Regions from separate parts of the Homo sapiens genome. Here regions 1, 3 and 4 are each linked to region 2. The links are contacts of gene promoters, found by promoter capture Hi-C in blood cells and fetal thymus (Javierre and others, 2016). All regions are on one chromosome and are shown on one strand. The core of a region is centred on a gene start or on the middle of the fragment in contact, and the rest is flanking DNA. Distances in the headings are between cores, read along the strand shown.

Region 1 (2,700 bases), core at 30-2,529, 130 kb after region 2:
AAATTGTATCAATATTAAATTTCTTGGGTGTGATGGTATCATAGTTTTTAGGAGCATGTCCTTGATCTTAGGAGATACATTCTAAAATATGCAGGTGAAGTGTCATAATATCTACAATTTACTTTCAAATGGTTTAGCAAAAAATGGCTTAGCAGGATGGGTGCAGTGGCTCACATCTGTAATCCCAACACTTTGAGAGGCTGAGATGGGAGGATCCCTTGAGCCCAGGAGCCCAAGGCTACAGTGAGCTATGATCGTGCCACTGCACTCCAGCCTGGGCAACAGAGCGAGACCCTGTCTAAAAAAAAAAAAATGTTTAGCAAAACTAACACAAACCCTCTCTACGTATAAATGAAGTATAGAGAGAGATACATATATGGAAAGAGCTGTATATATACATATATGTATATATACATATATGTATGTGTATATATGTATATATACACATATATATGTATGTATATGTATATATACACATATGTACGTATATGTATATATGTGTATGTATATATACACATATGTATATATGTATATATACACATATATGTATATATGTATATAGGCACACATGTATATATGTATATAGGCACACGTGTATATATGTATATATACACACGTGTGTATATGTATATATACACACGTGTGTATATGTATATATACACACGTGTGTATATGTATATATACACACGTGTGTATATGTATATATACACACGTGTGTACATATGTATATATACACACGTGTGTACATATGTATATATACACACGTGTGTACATATGTATATATACACACGTGTGTACATATGTATATATACACACGTGTGTACATATGTATATATACACACGTGTGTACATATGTATATATACACACGTGTGTACATATGTATATGTATATACACACGTGTGTATATATGTATATGTATATACACACGTGTGTATATATGTATATGTATATATACACGTGTGTATATATGTATATGTATATATACACATATATGTACATATGTGTATATATGTATATGTATATATACACATATATGTACATATATGTGTATATATACACAGAGAGAAAGATAAAATATAGTTTTAGTAGCTGACAAGTCTAAGCAAAGGGTATATGAGTGTTAATGGTGTATCTTTTAACTTTCTGTAGATTTGAAAAACTTCCCCAAAAATGCTGCGAGAATAATAAGATAGTGCAAAGAAAGTGCTTGGCCAATGGTAAGTGCTCAATAAAGGGTAGATCTTACCCAGAAGTATAAGCCCCATGAGGGCAGGAAATTTTGTTTATTTTATTTAGCACAATATCCACAGCACCTATAACAGTGCCTGGCACATAAGATAGTACTTAACAAACATTTAAAAGACAAATCATGGAGAGGTTGTACATTAGAAATGTAATGTAAAAAAAAATCACTGTAAAAAATGACACCACAGGACAATGCATAGTTGCATGGGACAGCTGTTACCATGGCCTGATATAACAGTGCCAGTTGCTTTGATTAAAGTGACTTCTTGGCAGGGTGCCATGACTCATGCCTGTAATCCCAGCACTTTGGGAGGCTGAAGCGGGAGGATTGCTTGAGCCCAGGAGCTTGGCGGCTGCAGTGAGCTATAATCACACCACTGTACTCCAGGCTGGGCCACAGAGCAAGACTTCAAAAAAAAAAAAAAAAAAAAAAGTCCCAGAAAATCTGTCTGCCCAATTGAGATGAGTTTGGCGATTTATTTACAAGAGTTAATGTTCTCTGAATAGCATCATCATGTTTGGTTAAGCCATTTGGGATTACGGTGGAAAAAAAATTAGCCAGTTTGGGAGCTTCATTTTTTTTCTAGTGCTGATTAAAATTGACATCAACAGACCTCTGGTGGGAGAGGTACTTCGCCCTCTGGTGGTGAGAGACACTCAGCTTTTTTTTTTTTTTTTTGAGACAGAGTCTTGCTCTGTGGCCCAGGCTGGAGTGCAGTGGCGCGATCTCGGCTCACTGCAAACTCCGCCTCCCGGGTTCAAGCAATTCTCCTGCCTCAGCCTCCAGGGCAGCTGGGACTACAGGCGCGCTTCACCCCGCCCAGCTAATTTTTGTGTTTTTGGTAGAGACGGGGTTTCACCATATTGACCAGGCTGGTCTCGAACTCCTGACCTCGTGATCTGCCCGCCTCGGCCTCCAAAAGTGCTGGGATTACAGGCCTGAGCCACCGCGCCTAGCCTCAGCTAGTTTCTACGGAAAAGGCTGGCAGAGCAGAGGTGAAGTGGAAAAGAGTGTCTTTCCACAGAGGTTTCTGGAAACATGTCCCCTTACTTCATGGTCACATGGTATCTGTAAGGACTGAATTTGAGGTTGTCATTTTTGACCCAGTGAATACCCAGCTTTGGTGAATGCCTGGGCCAGGCTAGACTGACAAAGATAGGAACTGAGGAATGGAAAGTGACATTTGCAGTTGGGTCAAAGCTGAGGTGGGAAGATTTGTCCCTAGCATGATGAGTGCCAAGGGAAACCTGGAGGGCCATGTGAACTGTGAAATTAGTCAGGATCCTGTCTCCTCACCGCGACAAGGGTGAGAATATCCATCACCATATGCCTCAGGAAGAGCTCTGGGTGGAATCCCTGGGCTGTGGATTCCCTGGTAAGGCTGGCTGCTGCCCGGACAGCTCACCAATGCCCTGTTTGTATCCCTGGAAATGCCTTTTCTTTTTATGTCTTT
Region 2 (2,700 bases), core at 115-2,614:
TTTCCTCAGCAAAACACCATTGTCCCAACATCATTTATTAGAATATTGCAGTCCTCTAGGTTGGAAGATACTAGAGAAATTAGTCCAACTGCACCCCCCATGAGATATAGGATAAGGTCATGGGTAAATAAGGGGAGACTAGAGTCAGCCTGCCTAGGTTAGAATTCCAATTCCATCACTCACTAGCTGTGTGACCTTGGGCAAGTTACTTAAGCTCTTTGAGTCTGTATCCCCATCTGTAAAATGGGGATAATAATTGCAGCTATTTCATAGAGTAGTTATGAGGATTGAATTGGATAATTCGTATAAAACATAGCACCAGGCCTGGCACATAGTGAGTGTTCAGTAAATGCTAGCTGGCATTATTGTGATGATGATGTATGCATCCATGCAAGCATTATGCATGCCTCCATCCAATCCCCTCCGAGAGCTTTTACTTGCACATGCCAGTGATGAGCAGCTCGCCGCCTCCTAAGCTGGTTGAGCAGCTCCAATTGTTACAAACTTCTTCCTATATCGAGCCCAAATTTGTCTTCTTGCAACCCCCACTCCCGCTGGCCCTAGTTCTGCCCTGTGGGGCCAAGCTAGAACAAGTCTATCCTACCTCCACCTGACAGCCCTTCAGCTACGAAGACAGTGATCGAGTCCTTCCTCCGCCCTCCCCCTCCCCCTTCTCCAGCTTGAACATCCTCGGTTTCTTCTCCCAACCCACAACAGACTGGCTGCGCTTACTATTTACTCCGAGGCGTTGTACGGTTTCCCTCGCACATAGTCATGCAGGCCACACACCCCACTGCCAACACAACAAACCCGACCCTCGTGCTCGGCCCCCGCCCGCTGCCCCTGTCCGCGGTGCTGAAGCAGCTCCCGGCCTCGGCGGCCCTCGGCGAGGCCCTCCCCAGCCCCCGCCCTGGGCCGCGCCAGCCCGGACCCAAGGCGCGGACCCCCGGCGCGCCGCCTCCGCGACCTCGGCAGTAGGTGCGGCCCGGCCCAGGCCCGTCCCCGGTGCCGCCCCCCGCCCTGCCCGGATGCCCCGAGCCCGCGCCCCGGCCCCGCGCGCCAGCCCCACCTGCCCGGCGAAGGGCGCCTCCGCCTCGTCCGCCCGCGCCACCGCCACCGCCACCGCTGCCCGGTTCCCTGCCCCCGCCGCCGCCGCCGCCGCCCGCGCGGCGCCCGGGAGGCAGCAGAGCGCGGGCAGCAGCAGCAGCAGCAGCCGCCCAGGGACCCGCCAGCGGCTCCAGCGCGGGGCCTGGCCCGGCGGCGGCGGCGGCGGCGGCGGCCCCGGCGCGGCGCGGCCGCCCCGGCTCCTCGGCATCCCGGCGGCGGGGCCCGCGCCCGGCCCGCCTGCCTTCGCCGCCGCCGCCGCCGCCTCGGCCGCCAGCGCGCCCCCGCCTCCGCGCGCCCCGCCCCGGTGGGGGGCGGCCGGGGGCGCGGGGGCAGCACCCGGGCGGGACCTGCGAGGGCAGTGGCTCCCCGACCAGCCCTGGGGCAGGGGCCGCGGAGCGGCGCTGGGGAGGGGGTTGCAGAGGCTAAAAGAACAGTTCTAGAGGCAGGGTCCGAAGGGGTGGAACTGGAGGTCGGGGTCTGGGGGTAGCCCTGAGCAGGAGGGGGAAGAGGCTAAATCAGTAATCCTGGAGGTAGAACAACTGGATGGCCCTGGGGGAACATATCCGGGGTTGGGGGTCCGGAACCCTGGGGAGAGGGTCCTAGGGAGTGGCATTGGAGGAGAGGGGGCCTGAGAGGCAGCCTGGGGGAGGAGACTGAGGAGCGGCTCTGGGGTAAAGGCGGGGTTCGAGAGCAAGCTAAAGAAATAGCCCTGGGTCTGAGAGGGTGACTCCGGAGAGGGAGCTCTGAGTGGCTCTCCTGGGCCGGGGTGGTGGGGGAAAGGGGTAGAGAAGACCTGAGGAGCGTTTAAGAGGGGGCATTCCTGTGAGACATTAGGTGAAGTTGAGGTGAAGCTCAGTCCCTCACCCCTAGAGGGAAAGAGCTCATCCAGCTGGGAAGATCATCTTTCATCCAAAACAACCCATATTTATCAAGCGCTTTCTATTTGTAGGGCTCTGGGCTACTTGGGATGCTGAAAGGAAAAAAAAAAACACCCAAAAACAAAAACAAAAAAGAGAAGGCCGATTTCCTGGAGTGCAGAGGTTTACAGCTTGATGAGAAAACATAAACGCAAAGAAAAACAGAATGGCAAACACCACGTGTCAACAAGGATACAGGCGGCTGCTCCAGGGGTCGAGGGAGACCTGATGAGGGGCTGGGGAAGTTAGGAAAAAGTGTAATGGAGGAGGGTGGGACTCTAGCTAGGACCTGAAGGAAAGGCTGGATTTAAACCAGGGGAGGGGAGAGGAGAGGGCATTTCAGGGAGGAAGTTGAGGGTGTACAGGATGTGCCTGAGGCGGCAGATAAGTTTCTCTGGAGCACAGGGTTCCTATAGGAAAGTGTTGGGAAGTGAGGGAAGTTGTACAAGACAGTGAATGCTAGGATAATAAATTTGGGTTGTGTTCTGAAGGAAAATGGGGGAGGGTGGTCATTAAAGGTTGTGTGTGTGTGGTGTGTGTGTGTGTATGTGTGTGTTTAAGCAGGATGATGTGTGAAAATAGTATTTTATGATTACGTGGTAATTTGGAGATGAAAAAAGGGCACAGGCTTTAGCGTCAGACCTATGTTCATATCTTGGCTCTGTTCCATTTTTAT
Region 3 (2,700 bases), core at 75-2,574, 200 kb after region 2:
TTAAGAAAGTAAGAGGACTCTAAGGGAATACTATAAACAATATAAGCCAATAAACTAAATAACCTAGATGAAATGAGCAAGTTAAAAGACACAAACTATTGCAGCTAACTCAGGAAGAAATAGAAAACCTGAAGTATAACAACGAGATTGAATAAATAATGAAAAACTGCCCACAAAGAAAAGTCCTGGCCCACATGGCTTCACTGGTTAATTCTACCAAATGTTTCAAGAAGAATTCACACCAATACTTTCCAGACTCTAATAGAAAATAAAAGAGGAAGGAACAGTTCCCAACTTACTCTTTGAGGTCATATTATCATGATACCAAAACCAGATAAAGACATCACAAGACCAGTATCTCTTATGATTATAGGTGCAAAAATCTTCAACAAAATACTAGCACACCAAGTATAGCAACATACAAGGATTGTATACCATGACCAAATGGATTTATGCAAGTTTGGTTCAACATTTGAAAATCAGTTTATGTAATACACTGTGTTAATAGAATAAAGGACAAAAACCACATGATCGTTTCCATAGGAGCAAAAAAGCATTTGACAAAATCCAACACCCTTTCATGGTAAAAACAAAAACTCAGGAGAGAACTTCCTCAGCCTGTTAAAGGGCATCTACAAAAACCCATGGCTGACATACCTAATGGCAAAAAATTGAAAGCTTCTACCACTAAGATCAGGAACAAGACGAGTTCCTGATCGTTTCTGGAAGTGGCAGTGCCATTGCCACTTCTCTTCAGCATCGTATTGGAGGTTCTGGCTAGGGCAGTTAGGCAAGAAAAAGAAATTAAAGGCATGCAAATTAGAAAAGTAGTGAAACTGTTCACAGATGGGATGATCTTATATGTAGAAAAATCTAAGGAATCTACTATAAAAACCAGTAAACTAATAAATAGGTTCAACAAAGGTTCAGAATACAAGGCTAATATTAAAAAATGAGTAGTATTTCTATAGAGTAGCAATCAACAAACCAAAAATTAAGAAAACAATTTTATTTATAATAGGATCAAAAAAATAAAATACTTAGGAACTTAAGTGTAAAACTTATACTCTGAGAATTCTAAAACATCATTGAAAGAAATTAAACCCTAAATAAATGTAAAGACATCCCATGTCTTTGAATCAGAAAATTAATATTGTTAAGATAATGATAGTCCCATTCTGATCTATAGATCAGCCTTACAGATTCAACACAATTTCTGTCATAACTCTCAGCTGACTACTTTGCACAAATGGAGTAGCTGATCCTAAAGTTCATGTGGAAATGCAGGAGACTTGGATTAACAAAAACAGTCTTGAACTAGGCCGGGTACAGTGACTCATGCCTGTAATCCCAGCACTTTGGGAGGCTGAGGCAGGAAGATCACTTGGCCTCAGGAGTTTGAGGCCAGCCTGGGTAACATAGTGAGACCCCTGTCTCTATAAAAAATTTAAAAATTAGGCAAGCCTCGTGACACCCACCTATAGTCCCAGCTACTCAAGAGGCTGAGGTGGGAGGGTAGCTTGAGCCCAGGAGTTTGAGGCTGCAGTAACCTGTGATTGTGCCACTGCACTCCAGCCTGGGTGACAGCAAGACTCTGTCTCAAAAAAAAAAAACAACCTAAGACAACTCACATCCTGACTTGAAAACTTACTACAAAGCTGCAATCGAGACACTATGCTGCTGGCCTGAGGATAGACATATTGATCAATGGAATATTGTTGAGAGTTCAGAAATAAACCCTCATGCTTATTATGATCAATTGATTTTCAGTGGGTACCAAGACCATTCATTGGTGGAAACAGTAGTAGTCTTTTCAACAAATGGTATTGGGACCATTTGATGTCCACATGCGAAAGAATGAAGTTAGATCCCCTGCCTTATGTCATATACAAAATTAAAAGGGTCAAAGACCTAAATGTAAGAGCTAAACCTGTGAAACCCTTAGAAGAAAACATAAGGATAAAGCTTCATGACCTTGGATTTAACAATTTAGCTGTCATACACAATGACATCTGAAGCACAAGCAACCAGATAAATAATAAATTGGACTTCATCAAAATTAAAACTTTTTGTTCTTCAGAAAACACAATGAGGAAAGTGAAAAGAGAACCCACAGAATGGAAGAACGTTTTTTGTGGGTAAGGCAGGGTGGGACATCTTTGCAAATAATATATCTAATAAGGGATTTGTATCTAGAATGTATAAAGAACTCTCATAACAATAATAAAAAAACCCATTTCAAAATATAGACAAAGGATCTGAATAGATGTTTCTCCAAAGAAGATATATAAATAATTATTAAGCACGTGAAAAATGTTCACCATCATTAGCCGTCAGGGAAATGCAAATCAAAACCACAGTGAGGCCAGGCACAGTGGCTGGCACCTGTAATCCCAATACTTTGGGAGGCCAAGGCAGGAGGATTGTTCAAGACCAGCTCAAACAACAGAGCAAGACCTCATCTCTACAAAAAAAAATTTTGTTTCGGTTAGCCAGGCATGGTGGCACGTGCCCATAGTCCTGACAACTTGGGAGGCTGAGGTGGGAGGATTGTTTGGGTCCAGAGTTCAATGCTGCAGTGAGCTGTGATCCTGCCACTGCACTTAAGTAGTCTAGATGATAGAGGAAAAAACAAACCCCACAATGATATAGTACTTCATACTCACTAGAATGGTTATCATCAAAAAAGGTGGATAATAA
Region 4 (2,700 bases), core at 4-2,503, 180 kb after region 2:
AAAATTAGCCCAGCATGGTGGTGCATGCCTGTAGTCCCAGCTACTTGGGAGGCTGGGACAGAAAAATTGCTTGAACCCAGGAGGCAGAGGTTGCAGTGAGCAGAGATTGTGCCATTGCGCTCTGGCCTGGGCATCACAGTGAGACTCCGCCTTAAAAAAAAAAATCTTAAAATTTAAGACAAAACAAAAAACCATAAGAAGTGGGCTGGGGGTGGTGGGACCTGTTTTGGGAACCATATACTGAGTTAGACAGGGCTAGAGGAACTGGTGAGCTACAAGTTACAGTTGCCAATAATAGTAGTAGCTTACATTTGTTTTGTACTAGGGAAAAGGAAAAGTGGAAGCAGTTGTTCCCCAATGCCCCCTGCACAGCAAATTCCTGTCCTCCATTACTAGAAATAGAGGCGAGTATGGGATTCATGAGAGCTTCTAGGAATCATGCACTCGTTTTGGGCACATTCACTGATACCCTTGCTACCAGGTCCTGTGCATTGAGTCTCAGGAGAAAGGGTAGGATATATGCCTTCATCAAAGTATGGTCAGATTATTTGGGAAATAGATGCAGGAACAGATTATTAAAAGTTCATGTGATCTGTGCAGTGAAAGAGAAACACCCAATCCAGTGGAAGTAAATTAGTGGGATGAAGGATAGCAGGTGTTATCTGAGTAGCACGGGGATGGTTCAAAATGAGAAAAGTTGATGTAGTACATGCCATTTACAGATTTTAAGGAGTAATGAGTGAGAATAGAACCAAATAGCACAAGGCATTCCATAAAATTATCATTCTTAATAAAAGCTAGCAATAGAAGGAAAACTTATAAACTATATATAGGGTATTTATTAAAATTTAACTTATAGGATATTAAAATTTACAGCAAATATTGAACTTAATTTTAATGTTTTGGAATTATTTCTGGTAAAGTCAAGAAAAAGACAAGAATTCTTGCTCTCACTCTGGATAAATGGTCACATACATGTGTACACAGAGAGTACCTGTAAGAATGTTCATTGCAACATTGTTTAATAGTGAAAAACTGTAGTTTACCTAAATATGTATTAAAAGAAGAAAGGGTCAGGCACAGTGGCTCATACATGTAATCCCAGCAGTTTAGGAGGCCAAGGTGGGAGGATTGCTTGAGTCCAGGAGTTCCAGCCTGGGCAACAATAGTGAGACCCTGTCTCCATAAAAATAAAGTATTGGCCAGGCGTGGTAGCTCACGCTTGTAATCCCAGCACTTTGGGAGGCCAAGGTGGATGGATCATCTGAGGTCAGGAGTTCAAGACCAGCCTGGCCAACATGGTGAAACCCCATCTCTACTAAAAAATACAAAAATTAGCCAGGCGTGGTGGCGGGCGCCTGTAATCCCCACTACTTGGGAGGCTGAGGCAGGAGAATCACTTGAACCCAGGAGGTGGAGTTTGCAGTGAGTCAAGATTGCGCCACTGCACTCCAGCCTGGGCGACAATGAGATACCATCTCAAAAAAAAAAATATTAAAAAAGTAGCCAGGTGTAATGACACGCACCTGTAGTCCTAGCTACTTGGGAAGCTGAGGTAGGAGGATTGCTTGGGCCTAGGAGTTTGAGTCTGCAGTAAGCTATGATGACACTACTGCTCCGCAGCTTGAGCAACAGAGTGAGACCCTGTCTCTTAAAAGAGAGAGATGATTAAACTGTGGGGTAAAACGGCGGGAAGTGATTGAATCAGCTGCTTGTATCAGTGTAGATAAACTTCAAAATGTTGGATGAAAAGTAAGGTATAGTATGGTATCATTCACACTGTGCATGCAGAGCAGTAACATGTATTTTAATGGAAATATTTGTAAGTATAAAAACATGCACGGGAATAATAAACACAGAGTTCAAAATAATGTTTACGTCTGCAGGGAGAGAAAAAAATGCGACTGGATGGGGGATACACAGAGGCCTTTAGCTATATTTGAAGTATTTTATTTTTTAAAAAAGCAAATCTGTAGCAAGAATGGTAATTTATGATTTCCAAAACTTGAGTGGTAGGCATTTCCTTTTTTTTTAAATAGGCAAAATATACCACAAGAACAATTGAAAACAGTGGTGCTCAAAAGGTAAATTTAGTCCTCAGACTAATCCTGTGAGGTAGATTAGTTCCGTTTTACAGATAAACAAGCAAAGACTCGAAAGGTTTTTGTAACTTAACCAAAGTTTCAGAGCTGCAAGTTACAGAGCTGGGATAGGAACCTAAGTGATCTAGCCACTAAGCCCCGTATGTAAGGGGATGCGAAAGAGAGGCACATCCAATCTCTTGAGTGAATTGAGCATGGGGATTGTTTCATTTTTGTCTTCTGTAGGAAATGATCCGACTAGATGAAGTCCCCAATCTGAGTTCCTTAGTATCCAATTTCGATCAGCAGCAGCTCGCTAATTTCTGCCGGATTCTGGCTGTCACCATTTCAGAGATGGATACAGGGAATGATGACAAGCACACGCTTCTTGCCAAAAATGCTCAACAGAAGAAGAGCTTGAGTTTGGGGCCTTCTGCAGCTGAAATCAATCAAGGTAAAGTCTCCAAGTTCTCAGAATTTTGAGATTATAGCTCTGAGGCCCTTACTAAATCATCTAGTTTTTTTTCTTTTTCTTTTCTTTTCTTTTTTTTTTTTTTTCCTTTTTTGAGATGGGATCGTCACTATGTCACCCAGGCAGGAGTGCAGTGGCACAATCGTG

Evidence for each region. The method cuts DNA at HindIII sites, captures the fragments that hold promoters and counts their contacts. A CHiCAGO score of 5 or more calls a contact.
Region 1: a contact is called between a fragment that was not itself captured here and the fragment with the promoter of MMP24 in region 2, in 2 of 17 cell types (megakaryocytes and M2 macrophages). The highest score is 5.8, in megakaryocytes.
Region 3: a fragment that was not itself captured here is called in contact with the fragment with the promoter of MMP24 in region 2 in 1 of 17 cell types (M1 macrophages); the score reaches 6.7 in M1 macrophages.
Region 4: a contact is called between a fragment that was not itself captured here and the fragment with the promoter of MMP24 in region 2, in 1 of 17 cell types (M1 macrophages). The highest score is 5.1, in M1 macrophages.

The regions. Positions count from the first base shown.
Region 1 is chr20:35,095,579-35,098,278 of GRCh38, reverse strand. No RefSeq gene overlaps it. Among named protein-coding and RNA genes, the nearest start is that of TRPC4AP, 4.1 kb to the right of the region's middle. RefSeq lists a silencer at 1,808-1,937. The HindIII fragment of the contact is 4,290 bases long and covers 1-2,700 here.
Region 2 is chr20:35,225,354-35,228,053 of GRCh38, reverse strand. It overlaps MMP24 (matrix metallopeptidase 24), which reads right to left and starts at 1,364. Exons shown (of 9, transcript NM_006690.4): 1 at 1,070-1,364. The coding sequence starts at 1,315. All of the region lies in intron 3 of MMP24-AS1-EDEM2 (MMP24-AS1-EDEM2 readthrough), which reads left to right. The HindIII fragment of the contact is 9,584 bases long and covers 1-2,700 here.
Region 3 is chr20:35,025,136-35,027,835 of GRCh38, reverse strand. All of the region lies in intron 8 of TRPC4AP (transient receptor potential cation channel subfamily C member 4 associated protein), which reads left to right. Among named protein-coding and RNA genes, the nearest start is that of MIR499B, 36 kb to the right of the region's middle. The HindIII fragment of the contact is 1,287 bases long and covers 681-1,967 here.
Region 4 is chr20:35,044,340-35,047,039 of GRCh38, reverse strand. It overlaps TRPC4AP (transient receptor potential cation channel subfamily C member 4 associated protein), which reads left to right. Exons shown (of 19, transcript NM_015638.3): 7 at 2,328-2,535. Among named protein-coding and RNA genes, the nearest start is that of TRPC4AP, 47 kb to the left of the region's middle. The HindIII fragment of the contact is 4,223 bases long and covers 1-2,700 here.